Linked DNA regions of Homo sapiens: region 1 is linked to region 2. Evidence: promoter capture Hi-C in human tissues and cell types (Jung and others, 2019). All regions are on one chromosome and are shown on one strand. Each heading gives the region's core, a stretch centred on a gene start or on the middle of the fragment in contact. The rest is flanking DNA. Distances are from core to core; before and after follow the strand shown. Region 1 holds the start of LOC124905043 (a long non-coding RNA gene). Region 2 holds the start of FTCD (formimidoyltransferase cyclodeaminase).

The links. Contacts are between HindIII fragments. The study calls those that stand out against the background at their distance.
Region 1: a fragment that was not itself captured here is called in contact with the fragment with the promoter of FTCD in region 2 in 6 of the 25 tissues and cell types used here (H1 embryonic stem cells, IMR-90 fibroblasts, aorta and 3 more).

What each region holds. Positions count from the first base shown.
Region 1 is chr21:46,108,709-46,112,362 of GRCh38, forward strand. COL6A2 (collagen type VI alpha 2 chain) reads left to right here. Exons shown (of 28, transcript NM_001849.4): 2 at 2,742-2,883; 3 at 3,271-3,654. The coding sequence starts at 2,769. LOC124905043 (a long non-coding RNA gene) reads right to left here and starts at 3,323. Exons shown (of 2, transcript XR_007067910.1): 1 at 1,763-3,323; 2 at 207-1,388. The HindIII fragment of the contact is 4,579 bases long and covers 1-3,654 here.
Region 2 is chr21:46,154,307-46,158,202 of GRCh38, forward strand. FTCD (formimidoyltransferase cyclodeaminase) reads right to left here and starts at 1,273. Exons shown (of 14, transcript NM_206965.2): 1 at 1,164-1,273; 2 at 1-26. The coding sequence starts at 1,217. RefSeq lists enhancers at 1-342, 343-1,046. The HindIII fragment of the contact is 26,017 bases long and covers 1-3,896 here.

The DNA.
Region 1 (3,654 bases), core at 211-2,710, 45 kb before region 2:
TACTTTAACTTCATATTATAGTTCTGGTATAGTGGTCCTTAATATGCTATTGGATTTTAGTTTTTAATATTGGCTAGAATTTTTGTGATAATGTTATGGGATTTTTAGGGTGTCACTTTTCTGGCCTGAAACCTCTATGGCCAGTGGCGCCTTTGCCCAAGTTCTTGTCCTGTGTCCAGGAAGAATGAGGTACACAGACAAGTGGAGGGTGTGCAAGACAGAGAAGCTTTATTGAGTGTTAGGGGAGCTCACAGGAGACCCGCAGGGGGCAGCCCCTCTCTGTAGGCGGGTTGTCTTGTCGGCGGGTTGTCTTGTCAAATGTTCAGCTCTCAGCAGAGAGAAGGCCCTGGAGTGGGTGGCTCCTCTCTGCAGGCAGGTCATCCCATTGTCTCTGCAGCTCTTAGCAGAGAGGAGGCCCTCGAGAGCGTGTCTCCTCTCTGCAAACAGGGCATCTCAACTAGTGTTCAGCTCTCAGCAGAGAGAAAGCCCTGGAGAGGGTAGCTCCTCTCTGCAGCTGGTCGTCCTGACATCCCTTCAGGTCCTGAAGCTCTCAGCAGAGAGAGCACCTCCTCTCTGCAGCTGGTCGTGCCATGCTCTGCCCTGCTCTGACTGAGCCTGGGGCTTTTAAAGGCCTCAGAGAGGGGAAGTGCATGCTGATTGGTCCATGTGCAGCCATGTGCAGGCCCAGAAGAAAGCACCTTGAGTTCCCCTCTGGTCCGTAGGACGGGCAACCCGGCCCCCAGGCTTCAGGCCTGCCCCAGCCTGAAGGTGGGGCTTCACTGGGGACCCATCCTCTTCTGCCCAGGAGCCTATCTGCCTCCTGCAGCCATCCATGGTGCCCAGGCTGCTGGTACCAAGGGGCACCGGTGCCCAGCCACCCTCAGCACCCCCCCAAGCCTCCCCTCCTGCACTTCTCAGTGCCCACAGTTTGGAGGGGGCCAAGTCAGCAGGGGGCTGGCATGTCAGCACTGCCACAAGCATGCACCCACCCGGCCAGGCTGTGACAGTGCCCAGGCTCAGCCCCAACTCTGCTCTGAGATTGGAGTGGGTGGTGGGAGCGGGAAGAAGCTGGGCAGCGGGAACAGGCACCTCCAGGCCTACAAGGGAAAGAGGGGCCTTCCCTGGCTCCCCAAGAGTGCAGCGATGCCTGGGTCAGCAGCCCCAGTTGGGGCAGCTGAAACTGCACCAGGAGTGGGGGCTGGCTCCTGCCTCCTCCATGGAGCAGAAGGCCCAGATCCACAGCCACGACTTGGGCAGTTGTACCTGGGGAACTCTCACCTCGCCAAACTGCAAGGGGCAGGGATCCCACTTATCCCCGGCTCCTGCTGGCTCCGTGGAGCATGGTACCTGGCCATGTCCTCTCGCAGCCTGGGGCAGGGTCTCCAGACCTGGGCCAGCATCCCAGACAGGGGCAACACCGCCGTGAGCTCCCCTTCACCCAGCACACCACCCGGCCCGGCCCCATGGCAGCGGCCCCCAGGGAGGCAGTCTGCGGGGTTGGGGGCCTGTCTGCCTCTTCCATGGGCCCTCCCTGAGCAGCCAGTGTGATGGCAGCGGCCACACCAGATGGGCTGCCGCTGCCATCAGTAATATTTATAGTGATATTTATCTGTAGAGTTACTTTTAGGGACTTTTTTTTTTATCAAGCTTTGGTCACAGGTTATGCAACATTTAAAAATGAATTGGGAAAAAGTTTATCTTTTTATGTTCTAAAACAAGTTAAATAGCATGAAGTGCTTGTCCTTGAAGCTGTGAAACTCACCCACAAACTGCCTGAGCTGGCACCTTTGGGAACGGACTTCATTCCTCCCTGGGCCCCAGGCTGAGCAGGTCTGGCCTGGGTCACCTCATCCACTCCAGACGCCGCAAAATCACAGCAACCCTTCAGGGCCCTCTCCTGGCAGCGCCTCCCCTAGTCCCGGTGCTTGGACACTCCTCCCATCTGCACCGAGGAGAGGGCGGCACTCCAATCCCTGCATTACCCCTGGAACTGCACGCTCTGAACCAGGCCCGGTGCCCTTTCTGCCCAGCTGCCCGGCTGCTGCCAGCCCCACTCTGCGGAGCCAGCAGCACAGTGAGGCCCGTCCTGATGGCCTCCTGGAGCTGGAGCTTAGGCCAAGCCACAGGGCATCAGGGAGGATGGACGTTCAAGGGCTGGATCTGTTTGCCCCAGGGTCCTGGCACCCAACAGAAAGGAAAGCCAGGCTAATGACGGCTGTGTCCCTACACTTGACAGAGTCCTCCCTCCCTCCTTATCAAAGTCCTGTTTAAAGGGAATGGAGCCAGGCTGGAGAGAGAGTGCCTAGCTCTGCAGGGGAGCCGGTCTGGGGAAGCTGGGATCTCTCTCCCGCCCTCCCCTCTGCACTGTTTCCAGGGCAGCCCCAGGCAGTGGGGGGCGCCAGACAGTGGTGCTCCATTCCCTTCCATGCCGACGCGCCCAGCTACCCACTCCACCCAGCCCTGGAGGACATGGAAGGGCCTCAACCATCCAAATCCCACCCAAAACTGAGCCCAGAGGCACCCACTAAACATCTGTGACCCCACCCAGGGTGGGGCAAGAGGGCGCAAGCCCCCCAGTCCAGATGCTGGTGACGGTGTGTGCTGGGCGCAGACCCCGCTTCCTTGAAGACTGAGGGCAGTGCCCCCAATCCCGCTGACCTGCTGTGCGTGCGCCTGCCATGGGGGAGGGTGCCAGGGGAGAGGCACTGGGGGTGTCTGAGCGACCCCCACCCCTGTTGCAGGACTTCAGGGCCACAGGTGCTGCCAAGATGCTCCAGGGCACCTGCTCCGTGCTCCTGCTCTGGGGAATCCTGGGGGCCATCCAGGCCCAGCAGCAGGAGGTCATCTCGCCGGACACTACCGAGAGAAACAACAACTGCCCAGGTGCCAGGGGTCGGGGGCCGGGGGCTCTGGGCATTTGGGGGGCAGTTGGGACCAGTACCCAGGTGCCAGGGGTCGGGGGCCGGGGGCTCTGGGCATTTGGGGGGCAGTTGGGACCAGTACCCAGGTGCCAGGGGTCGGGGGCCGGGGGCTCTGGGCATTTGGGGGGCAGTTGGGACCAGTACCCAGGTGCCAGGGGTCGGGGGCCGGGGGCTCTGGGCATTTGGGGGGCAGTTGGGACCAGTACCCAGGTGCCAGGGGTTGGGGGCCGGGGGCTCTGGCATTCGGGGGCAGTGAGGTCAAACCCACAAACAGGCACGGGGCCAGGAAACGGGGCTCCAACAGCAGTCCCTCCTGAGGCTGGCTCGTGACAGGTCCTGTGCCCCACAGAGAAGACCGACTGCCCCATCCACGTGTACTTCGTGCTGGACACCTCGGAGAGCGTCACCATGCAGTCCCCCACGGACATCCTGCTCTTCCACATGAAGCAGTTCGTGCCGCAGTTCATCAGCCAGCTGCAGAACGAGTTCTACCTGGACCAGGTGGCGCTGAGCTGGCGCTACGGCGGCCTGCACTTCTCTGACCAGGTGGAGGTGTTCAGCCCACCGGGCAGCGACCGGGCCTCCTTCATCAAGAACCTGCAGGGCATCAGCTCCTTCCGCCGCGGCACCTTCACCGACTGCGCGCTGGCCAACATGACGGAGCAGATCCGGCAGGACCGCAGCAAGGGCACCGTCCACTTCGCCGTGGTCATCACCGACGGCCACGTCACCG
Region 2 (3,896 bases), core at 23-2,522:
ATGGCTCCAGAGATGGCGTCGATCACCTGGGACACAGGCCCGGCCCCCACACCTCAGTCTCCCCGTTTGAAAGAAGGAAAAGGAGCTTGGAGGTGGCTGCACCCCGAGACACAAATGGGGGCTGAGGAGGCGGGCCAAGCCTTTGGGGGCTCTCCGACAAGCTGAGCTCCCACCGAAAGTGCCCGCACACAGCGGCCGCCCGGGAACCCTCACAGCAGCCACAGTCACTCCAGCCCAAGCACAGTCCCCACAAGGGGCTGCAGGTGGTGCCTCCAGGAGAGACTCACGGGCTCTGCTCCGACAGACAGATGCCAGAGACGTGGCCGGGGATCCAAGAAGGTGACCACAGGCGCAGGTCACAGAGGGGCCGGGACCCCCACCCCCGAGCAGGGGAGGGACAGATCACCAGCATGGGGGAGGGGCCTGAAGGGCCTAGAACCTTCCGGGTGGCAGGACTGCTGGGAGCAGGGGCTCAGCCCCAAATCTTGCCCTGTCCCAGGGCCTTGGTGCTGGCTGGAATCCCGGCATGACGAGGCCTCCCTGCACCCCTGCGGGTGACCCCTGTGGCCTGGTGCTGCGCTCTGGGAGGCCTTCCAGGTGGCCCTTAGGGCCTGCGTTTGTTCCCGGAGGAGCCTGGACCTCAGGGCTGTGGAAGGCGAGAGGCCGGACCTGGGGGCCTGCTGCCCCCTCTGTGCCTACTTCGTTTTGGGTCCAGTGAGGATGGTGGCTGCAGGGTGGGGGCTCAGCAAGCTAACTCCAGTGGAGATGGAGAGGCGGCAGTGGGGACCATGCTGGGCCACCTCGTGTGGCCTCACACAGCCCTTTCAGTCAGTGGCAGGAGCCCCATTTTCAGGGGGGAGCACCAAGGCCCTTTGAGGCCCAGAGATCTGCCCAACCCCCCACCGAAAGCACCCGAAAGGCCCCTGAAGCCACAGCCAAGCCTCAGCCCCCACAAGCACCAGTCGTGTTCCACCCACCCCTGGGTCAGGCACTCCCCAGGGCCCTGAGCCACGGGATGTCCTTGGGGCCCACGGGCAGCGGCTCTGCCCATCCTGGGAAGACGACCCGGGACACCAAGCCCACCACCTCCTCCATGGCCTGGGCCTTAGCCACTCAAGCTGCCCCATCAGCCCTAGATGCTTGACCAGCTCCTCGGGCCTCACCTCCTGGTTCTTCCCCTCCGAAAAGTTGGGGACGCATTCCACCAGCTGGGACATGGCCAGCACCTTGATCCAGATGCTCCTCTCTGGGCAGATGGAAGGACAGGGCCAGTGCTCCGCAGCCGCCGCCAGGGCCTTTATACGCTCACCGGCAGCACCTCCCCACCGGCTTCTCATTAACCAGCAAGGCACAAGGAGCAGTGGGGCCAAGGTCCCTGTGCAGCCGCGGAGTGGGGTGCTGCAGAGCCACCCCGGGTGCTGTTGACCCAGAGGGGATGGCTCCACTCAGCCAGAGTGTGGGTTCCCGGAAAAGAAGCACATGCCAGGGTGAAGGGGCATGTGCCGAGGACCCCCAGGAGCATCAGGCCAGCCTGGCTGGAATCCTGTCGTGACGAGGCCTCCCTGTGCCACTGCGGGTGACCCTCGTGACCCTGTGCTGCCTTCTGGGAGGCCTTCCAGGCAGCCCGTGGGGCCTGCGTTTGTTCCTGGAGGAGCCTGGACCCCTGGGGCTGTGGAGGGCGAGAGGCCAGCATGAGGCCCTGGCTCGCAGCACCCAACTGAGGTCAGCTCAGCTCAGACAGGAGAGTGCAGGGGAGCACGCGTGTGAGAGTGAGTGAGGATACACGTGAGGGCAGGGCAGGGGAACACGTGAGAGTGCAGATACACGTGAGCACAAGGCAGGGGAGCACATGTGTGAGAGCGTGGATACATGTGAGCACAGGACAGGGGAACACGTGTGAGAGTGAGCGAGGATACATGTGAGTGTGGGGTAGGGGAGCACACGTGTGAGAGTGCAGGTACACGTGAGCATGGGGCAGGGGAAGCAAGCATGTGAGAGTGAGTGCAGATACATGTGAGCGCAGGGCAGGGGAACACGCGTGTGAGAGTGCAGATACACACGAGACGGGCATGTGCGATATGGGGGAAGGCAGCTGAGACCCCAGCTCTCCCCAGCTGCTGCTCCCCTGACTACAGGCTCCCCACGAAGTCAGCGGCACCAGGGCCGTGCTCAGAAGGGAGAACTCCTGTCTCCACGTTCAGCCGCTGCCCACTTGCAGTGCTTTTATCATTTTCTCTTTTTTTTTTTTTTGAGACAAAGTCTCACTCTGTCAGCCAGGCTGGAGTGCAGCGGCACAATCATGGCTTCCTGCAGCCTTGGTCCCCAGGCTCAAGAGGTCCTTTCACCTTAGCCTCCTGAGCATCTGGGCCACAGGCACACACCACTACACTGGCTAACTTTTCCATTTTTGGTAGACATGGTGATATGGTTTGGCTGTGTCCCCACCTAAATCTCATCTTGAATTGTAGAGCCCATAGTTCCCACGTCATGGGAGGGACCCGGTGGGAGGTCACTGAATCACGGGGGCGGCTTTTTCCGGTGCTGTTTTTGTGATAGTGAATGGTCTCACGAGATCCGATGGTTTTATAAAGGGCAGTTCCCCTGCACACACCCTCTTGTAAGACGTGACTTTGCTCCTCTTTCACCTTCCACCATGATTGTGGAACTGTTGAGTCCATTAAACTGCTTTTTCTTTAAAAATTACCCAGTCTTGCGTATGTCTTTATCAGACAAATACACATGAGGTCTCACCACGTTGCCCAGGCTGGTCTCAAACTCCTGGGCTCAAGCGATCCTCCTGCCTCGGCCTCCCAAAGTGCTGGAATTACAAGTGTGAGCCACTGAGCCCAGCCCCACTTGAAGTTCTTTTTTTTTTTTTTTTTTTTTTTTGAGACAGGGTCTCGCTCTGTCGCCCAGGCTGGAGTGCAGTGGTGCGATCTTGGCTCACTGCAAGCTCTGCCTCCCGGGTTCACGCCATTCTCCTGCCTCAGCCTCCAGAGTAGCTGGGACTACAGGCACCCGCTACCACACCCAGCTAATTTTTTGTATTTTTAGTAGAGATGGGGTTTCACCATGTTGGCCAGGATGGTCTCGATCTCTTGACCTCATGATCCACCCACCTCGGTCTCCCAAAGTGCTGGGATTACAGGCGTGAGCCACCCACTTGAAGTTCTTAATGGAACCCCAACCATGTGGGCCTTAGGGACCCCACCTCCGTGGCTACTCAGGGGGACTGGGATGAGACAGGAGCCAGGTAAGCCCAGAAACCTTCAGAGGCTGGGAGCACACAGAGTTCCCCAGCCAGGGCTCCACGTCTGGAGGCTGGGAGTGGGGGATGGGGTCAGGGATCTGTGTCTGGAGGGAGACCAGGAGGGGAGGATGGGGTCAGAGCTCTGTGGAGCCTCAAGGGGAGGATGGAGTCAGGGATCCATGTCTGGAGGCCAGGAGGGGAGGATGGGGTCTGTTGAGGGCCGCACTGCATTCCCTCGAGAAACCATCTGCTGAAGGCCTGACCTCCAGCATGGCAGACTGGATTACCCCCAGCACCGCCGACTGGATTGGATGTGGAGATGGACAGGGCGGTGAGAAGAGGGAGAGACACCAGGGATGCACTCAGAGAAAAGGCCAGGAGGACAAAGCAGGGAGGCGGCCGCCTGCAAGCCAAGCAGAGAGACCTCAGACAAACAGAATCTGCAGACACTTTGATCTTGTACTCTGGGCCTTCAGGACTGTGATAGAATAAATTTCTGTGGTTTAAGCTGCTGGGTCTGCGGTACTTTGTGACGGCAGCCGCACACATCCAGGGTCCCGAGGTGCGGGGCACTGGAACATTCTGGCTGTGAGGGTTGCCCACACTGGGCTGGCACCTTCATCCTCGCACCACAGCAGAGTGACCA